Linked DNA regions of Homo sapiens: region 1 is linked to region 2. The links are contacts of gene promoters, found by promoter capture Hi-C in human tissues and cell types (Jung and others, 2019). All regions are on one chromosome and are shown on one strand. Each heading gives the region's core, a stretch centred on a gene start or on the middle of the fragment in contact. The rest is flanking DNA. Distances are from core to core; before and after follow the strand shown.

Region 1 (3,632 bases), core at 1,133-3,632, 160 kb after region 2:
CTCAAGGGTCTTCAAAGACTTTGCAGCTTTTGGCTGAAGTTGAGCCACCTGGTCCCAAATGGAGCCCCATTCCCGCCATGCCACCTCCTGTCTGTTTAAGCTTTACAAGATGACTTGCAGTTTCCTGTAGAAAGCATGACTTTTAAAAAAAGACTTATTTCCTTCTCTCCTGCATCTAACTCTCACTTGCTCTTTAAAGCCTTCTCTGACCTAGGTCTTGCCTGTTTCTCCTGCAGAACACTGCTTCCACCATTTTGTAGCATCAGTGTCTAACATTGGTTGGCATGTAGGGTGTGCTCTATAATCCTTGTTGAAAGAATAAGTGGGAGGTAACAGAGGCTTAATTCACATTGAGCTGTAAACGAGCAATATCTGACTCTTCTGAGAATGGATTTTGTTTCAAACACTGGTTACTTACTGGAAAAGGTGTCTGGGGAGTGCTGGACAGCAAGAACAAAGGGACCCCACAGAACAGGAAAAGAGGCACTCTAGGGTCTGCGGTTTGCCTATGTTAGATCACCGTGAAAAAGGCCAGTGTATGCTTTGGCAGCTGGCAAAGAATCCTGTGACTCAGTTTCCTTATTTGCACAAAAAGGGTATGAGTCTACATTAGGTAATTACTCATGCTCATTTCCAACTCTTGACAGTCTACGATCCTTTGTGTCAAAGTTAAAAATCTAAGTAGGGCATTCTGAATTGGTGTCAGAGTTGATGCACTTCTCACTGTATTGCAAGTGCCAAGGGGACAAATACATTGTCTTTTTGCATTCAACAAAGACAGTTTTGCATTTTAAAAACAAAGTAGAAGGGAATACAGGAAAACTGCATTAATACAATTTTATGCTGGAGAATTTAAACTCCCATGTCAGGAAATTCACTCATCATTCCCTTGGCAGCTTTTGTTTCTCTGCACTGCACACCCCACTTACAGACAGCCCCTTCTTGCCAAAGCCCAGCCCAGCCATGACCATGAGTTATGGCAGATTGGGAATCGTTACCTTGATCTTCTCAACCCTTGGGTGTTTACCTTTTCCAAGTTAATGCCTGTTCTTTAATGTTACATTATCTTGTAGCAAGGTAGTCATTTATAATTTATATACTAGAGCTGCCTTAAAATAGAGACAAGAGGATAATCAGCATCCTGAAACTTCTAGTTTTCCAAAATAACATTTCTTCAGTGAAGTCTGCCTGTAGGAATTAAAACTTTTGGTGAATTAAAAAGCTTTTTGTCCTATTGTCAGACTGGGAAATGGATGTGCCCATTACTCAGCCTTAAAAACGAGGAAGGAGATCATCTGTTAAAAATAAAACTCATCATTTTCTTTTATTCTTCTCAAAATAATCCCTAAAGACCTCAATCTTTATAGTGTTCCAGTGGCCCCACTATAGTCAGAGAGGAGACAGGGCAGAAGTTGAAGGACAGATAGGAGAAACGGCCCTGCTAAAAGATAAAAGCCAGTATGCATCTCAGCTACTTGTCTGCTGTGGTCCTGATATTCTTCCATCTAGGTTGCTGCTTTGCTTGACTTTGACTGCAAACACAGAGAAGGGATGGGCTTTCCTGTTGAGTACCTTGTAGAGAACCCACTGTTCATTCATATGTGTTAAAAATGAAAAGCCTACTTGAAAACTCCCCTGTAGAATCAGGTTTTAGCAAAAACCAATCAGGTATCAGAGGTCTAACTTATTTTTCCCTTCTTGGTTTTATAGCAAGTCTCTAAACCCTAAGATTTTTTGTTTGTTTGTTTGAGATGGAGTCTTGCTTTGTCGCCAGGCTGGAGTGCAGTGGCATGATCTCGGCTCACTGCAACCTCCGCCTCCCGGTTTCGAGTGATTCCCCTGCCTCAGCCTCCCGAGTAGCTGGGACTACAGGCATGCGCTACCACACCTGGCTAATTTTTTAGTATTTTACTAGAGACAGGGTTTCACCATGTTGGCCAGGATGGTCTCGATCTCCTGACCTCATGATTCGCCTGCCTCAGCCTCCCAAAGTGCTGGGATTACAGGTGTGAACCACCACGCCCGGCTGCCTAAGAATTTTTTTCATTCCTTTTCATTATATACATCTTCAGTGTGCCAAGACTTTGAGTGGAGATTTCTAATGAGGGCAGGAAGGGACGGATGCTTCTGCAATTGAGTGGTCTCATTTTTCCCATGTCTGTCGAAAGATTACTCTTTCATGACCACCATTTCTATGATGCATCTCATATGATCCTAATGCACTCGAGTTTGTATTTGAATGTCCATCTGATATTTAGGGGTGGTTGGGGCAAGGAGGGGGCAAGCAGCAACTAAGGGGTTGTATGGGAACATCCTGGTGGTTTAACTTGAAAGCCACTAGGTGGCAACATTTACTAAGTTGCCAGCCATTCTCTTCCCTTAAGACATTGAACTTGCTTTTCCACATAGCAGATGGAATAGCTGAGAAAAGAGATTGCCATTGCTTCAGGTTCTTTTGAAAGTGAGGCTATAGGATAAACACACTACAGTATATTGATATCTATTCGTCACCTGGGTTTAGATACCAGGAGTTTGAATTTGCTCTGGGTGACTGGGTGAGTAGCTTCCCCTTTGGCCTCAGTTAGGCATCCTTGACAGGACAGACCTGTGATTGGACTGTCTGGTCTCTCATGGTTCTTTTTCTCCATGATTTATGACTTTGATTATGATTTCTTTATATTAAAAAAAAACTTGTAGTAAAACCAGTCTTATTTAAAGGAATACTAGCCTTTTATCAAAGGGCAAAGTAATGATTTAAAAAAAAAATCAACAACAAAATTTCAAGGGAATGAATGTCCCTAGAAGCTAGCCATCTCCCCGAGTTAACTTAAGAGGCTAGACTCTCCTAAATGAGGATGCTTATTTACCAGCTTTCCTAAATTAGCAGCTTTGGAGATGTTAAAATCCGTAAGGAACTGTCCAAGGGATGTATTGTGTATGCTTTGCAGTGATTAAGCCATTAAGCTCTAATTGGTATTTTCCCACTCATGGGTTTGTAAAGGAAGCTTTAAAATTATTTAGGAATTCAGTCCTCATCAGCTGTCTTAGTGTCATCCCCACGTTTTGGAACCTGAGAGTGGAGAGTGCAGAGAAAAGGTTTTATTAATGATTTTTGCTCACAGTGTCCTTCCCCATTGGTTTGTTATTGCAGATGAAGTGGAAAGGGAAGGACCTCTTTGATTTGGTGTGCCGGACTCTGGGGCTCCGAGAAACCTGGTTCTTTGGACTGCAGTACACAATCAAGGACACAGTGGCCTGGCTCAAAATGGACAAGAAGGTTGGGCTAGAACTCGATGAAACTGGTGGGGCTGACGTGAGCTTTCCAGTTTTTCCCTGAGCAGGCGCCTAGCTCATCACTGGGGCGCTGTAGCTGTATAGTAGAGAAGGGGGCACATTCCTGAATTAAGTCATGCAGAAAGCAGGACGTAGAGATGCTACCAGTTTCCTTCTCCTCACAGGCTCTCCTGGGCAAGCAGAAGTTACCAGGATTAGACTGCTGCTGGCCCTGGCTTCTTTACCCATTGTTACCAGCCTGATTGCTTCTGGCTTTATGCCTTTCAGTTTATGAATAAAAACTTCATGAATAAAAATTACTGTTATCTTCATATACTTAAAAATAACCAATTTGTGTC
Region 2 (4,095 bases), core at 535-3,034:
CTCCCAGCATCCCCAGGGGTCCTTTCGCAGGGGTCCCTAAGCAGGAGGGGAACAGCCCAGAAAACACGGAACTGGACCCCCGACAGGAAGTCCAGGGAGGGGTCCCTGGCTCACTATGTGACCCTGCTGGATCACTTGCCTCCCCTCTCGGGTCCCCTCAGCACAGTGTCCCTCCCTTCCTTCCCCTAAAGTAAAAGCAGAGGGTTAATCTCTTTCCCCGCCCCACGCCCAACAAAGAGCAGGCCCTGTCCCCGGTGCTGAAGCGCCAGCCGCAGCACCACCCCCACTCCCACAGCATAAAACATGAGCCAAAACCAATAAAGAGCCAAATGTCACAGCCGTTGCAGGGCCCCCTAAATCCTGGGGACCCCTTCTTCTACCTGACATCCTATTGGGGTGAGGGACTTTGGTACTCAGAAAGCATCTCATCACTTCCCTGTAAGAGAGAAGGGATGCCGACTCAGGCGCCTGCTTGTCTGTTACAGGAGTGGGGGAAGAGAGGACAAGTTGAGGCTGAGAAGATGGGGAGGGGGAGGGAGAAAAGAGGACTTCCTAGTGTTGACAGAACGGCAAGATGTGGGTTCCCCATCCCCAGTTCAGCCAGAGACCCCTCAAAGTGGAACTTCCTGGGGCAGTCGGGGGTCAGGAGTTGGAGCTTGTCTCTGGGGCAAGACCCCTTCGTTGTACAGATGGAAAAACAAGGGTGGGAGGACACAGCTTGTCCAAGGTCATTCGACCAGCAAACTGCCTAGCTGACCCCAGTGTGCAGAAGCTGGCTCGGGTGACACCCATCATTTCCCCCCACCCCACACAGGGGCCAGCTCTCTCAACTTCATGCCCAAGCCCTCCTACGGTACCCCCACTGTAGGTTCTCTGCCCCTCAAACTCAGCCCAGCTTTCTCCTGCCTGTTCAGGGGACCTTCTGCCCGCTTCGCTGAGGGTCCGTCCCCTTTACTGGGGCTGGCAGCAGGGTCTCCCATCTCCTCTCTCGGGGGCCACTGCAGACTTTTTAGAGAACGCCTTGCCTCCCCCCAACCCCACCCATCCGGGGTTCCCTCTCTCCATCCTCTGCAGTGTCTCCCATACCCCCATTCAGGGTAGCCTTGCTATTCTCCCCAACTCCAGGTCCCCCTTCATCTATTCCGGGGCTGGCCGCGGAGTTTCCTGAGCGCTCTCCAAGTGGGTCCTCTAGATGTTAGGAGAACACTGTACCTCCCCCGGTCAGGGGTCTCCTGTCTCCGTTCTATGGAGCGTCCATGCTCCCATTCAGGACTGCCTTGCTCCCTCCTCTGTTCCGGGGCTGGCTGCACAGTCTCTGCACCCCCTATCCTGAAAGCCTCTCTTAACTATTTGGAAAGCCTCGTGTCCTGTCTCATACAGGGATCCCCTCATCCTAATGACTGCAATCTTCCATTGCTCCATCCCGAGGGCATCCTGCCCCTATTCCCATCAGGTTTCTCCTTGTCCTCTCCCTGTTTCAAGTCCCCTTTCTTATTCCGAACACACTCGCAGGCTCTTCCGACGCGCACCCGGGGGTCCTCACTGGCCCACTCCGGGAGTCCTCTGCCCGCTTCCCCGACCTCGAGGGTCTCCTCTGACGCAGCGTCGATTCCCCTTCCCTCCTCGGTCCCCTGCCCCGCCCCTCTCACTGCGGCGGAGCCGGTCGGCCGGGGGGCCGCAGGGGAGGAGGCGGAGAGGGCGGGGCCCTCCTCCCCACCCTCTCACTGCCAAGGGGTTGGACCCGGCCGCGGCGGCTATAAAAGGGCCGGCGCCCTGGTGCTGCCGCAGTGCCTCCCGCCCCGTCCCGGCCTCGCGCACCTGCTCAGGCCATGATGAGCTTCGGCGGCGCGGACGCGCTGCTGGGCGCCCCGTTCGCGCCGCTGCATGGCGGCGGCAGCCTCCACTACGCGCTAGCCCGAAAGGGTGGCGCAGGCGGGACGCGCTCCGCCGCTGGCTCCTCCAGCGGCTTCCACTCGTGGACACGGACGTCCGTGAGCTCCGTGTCCGCCTCGCCCAGCCGCTTCCGTGGCGCAGGCGCCGCCTCAAGCACCGACTCGCTGGACACGCTGAGCAACGGGCCGGAGGGCTGCATGGTGGCGGTGGCCACCTCACGCAGTGAGAAGGAGCAGCTGCAGGCGCTGAACGACCGCTTCGCCGGGTACATCGACAAGGTGCGGCAGCTGGAGGCGCACAACCGCAGCCTGGAGGGCGAGGCTGCGGCGCTGCGGCAGCAGCAGGCGGGCCGCTCCGCTATGGGCGAGCTGTACGAGCGCGAGGTCCGCGAGATGCGCGGCGCGGTGCTGCGCCTGGGCGCGGCGCGCGGTCAGCTACGCCTGGAGCAGGAGCACCTGCTCGAGGACATCGCGCACGTGCGCCAGCGCCTAGACGACGAGGCCCGGCAGCGAGAGGAGGCCGAGGCGGCGGCCCGCGCGCTGGCGCGCTTCGCGCAGGAGGCCGAGGCGGCGCGCGTGGACCTGCAGAAGAAGGCGCAGGCGCTGCAGGAGGAGTGCGGCTACCTGCGGCGCCACCACCAGGAAGAGGTGGGCGAGCTGCTCGGCCAGATCCAGGGCTCCGGCGCCGCGCAGGCGCAGATGCAGGCCGAGACGCGCGACGCCCTGAAGTGCGACGTGACGTCGGCGCTGCGCGAGATTCGCGCGCAGCTTGAAGGCCACGCGGTGCAGAGCACGCTGCAGTCCGAGGAGTGGTTCCGAGGTACGCAGGCGCGCGGGTGGGGGGAGGGGCGCCCCTGCTGACCCCGCAGCGAACTTTTGGGCTGCGTGACCCAAGGGGGCGCTGCCGGACTGCGCGTGGAGTGGCGCGCTGCTCACCTTCCCTCTGCAAAGTGCATGCCCCTAGTTAAATCGCAGTTTTACTCTGGGTCTCTTGTGGGACGCCCCAACTCTGGGTTGTCCTTCGGTTCCCCCTTTCCAGGTTCTTTACGGCTGTACTTCAACTCTGGGCCCCCTGCTGCTCTCTACCCCAAGCTTAGGCGACCCCACTCTGAGATCCCTCCCCCGTCAAGAAAAAAACAAGTTTCCTCTACAGGAAAAAAGTGGTGCAGGATTCTGGTCTGCAAGCGCTGGAGACTCTTAGCCCTTCTAAGTAGCAAGGCTTCCCCGCCAATGCTGCCATGCCCTCTCCTACACCCCGCAAGAAACTCTATTCCTCTCACCCCTACCAGGCTCCTTCCCACTACCTGCTCAGTGCTTAACGTTCCTACCTTAAATCTTCCACGTGGGGGTGGGTCAGGACCTTTTCGCATCCTTTCTTCCTAGAGGGAACCATTACTACAGTCAGTTGTTGCCTGTGGCGGAGGTGGCTGGTGGGCCCTTTCATGTTTTAATGTCCCCTTTCTCCTTTAGGGAAGCTGGGAGCCTCCCAAGTCTGCCCCTCCCCCAACTCCTTGCAGCCCTGAGTCAGCTAGATTGCGCTGCCCTGAGGCTGTGCCCAGCAGCTGCAGGGTGACCTTGACCAACACTTGCCCTCTCTGGTTTTCATTTCTTTTTGAGTTGAAAGAGGAGGGTAGATCAACTGGGCTGCTTAATCCGGGGAGTTCCATGATGTCTCACGAAACTGTCTGTAAAACTTTGCGTTGTTTTTGAGAGAGAGGGCAGAGGCTTCAGTGATTTTCCAAAAGCATCTGTGATCGACAATAGTTGAGAATCTCCAACCACCTGGATGGTTTCTAAGTCTTTGCCAGCACTAGCAGGGAAAGCTGGGATTTTGATGCATAGCTTTTTCTGTTCCTTTTCCACTCCTCTGCAGAGCAGAACCATCCCCTCCTCCATCTCCGCAGCAAGGCCCCTCCCTGCGCAAACCTCTTTTGGGTTTGCCAGTCGTAGGGGCAGACGTCCCAGGATTGTACTGGCCCACTCAGCTGGCTTCCTTCCTCCCCGCCAAGACTTGTGCCCTGAGTGCCACTATCTGGGGATTCAGGATGTTCACTTTTACGAGCTAAAGACCAGTCTCCAGACCTCCACTGCCTCTGGAAGGTTTCCTGGGAACCACGAGCGGGTTGCTGGCGGGGGCCGGGGTGTGGCTACCAATGCTCAGGGGCAATGCTCAGCTAGGTGGAGAAAGGGACAGGGGTTGGCA

The links. Contacts are between HindIII fragments. The study calls those that stand out against the background at their distance.
Region 1: a fragment that was not itself captured here is called in contact with the fragment with the promoter of NEFH in region 2 in 2 of the 25 tissues and cell types used here (dorsolateral prefrontal cortex and liver).

Annotation. Positions count from the first base shown.
Region 1 is chr22:29,633,600-29,637,231 of GRCh38, forward strand. It overlaps NF2 (NF2, moesin-ezrin-radixin like (MERLIN) tumor suppressor), which reads left to right. Exons shown (of 16, transcript NM_000268.4): 2 at 3,152-3,277. Among named protein-coding and RNA genes, the nearest start is that of NF2, 32 kb to the left of the region's middle. The HindIII fragment of the contact is 3,442 bases long and covers 662-3,632 here.
Region 2 is chr22:29,478,434-29,482,528 of GRCh38, forward strand. It overlaps NEFH (neurofilament heavy chain), which reads left to right and starts at 1,785. Exons shown (of 4, transcript NM_021076.4): 1 at 1,785-2,712. The coding sequence starts at 1,830. RefSeq lists enhancers at 1-246, 2,807-3,661. The HindIII fragment of the contact is 10,845 bases long and covers 1-4,095 here.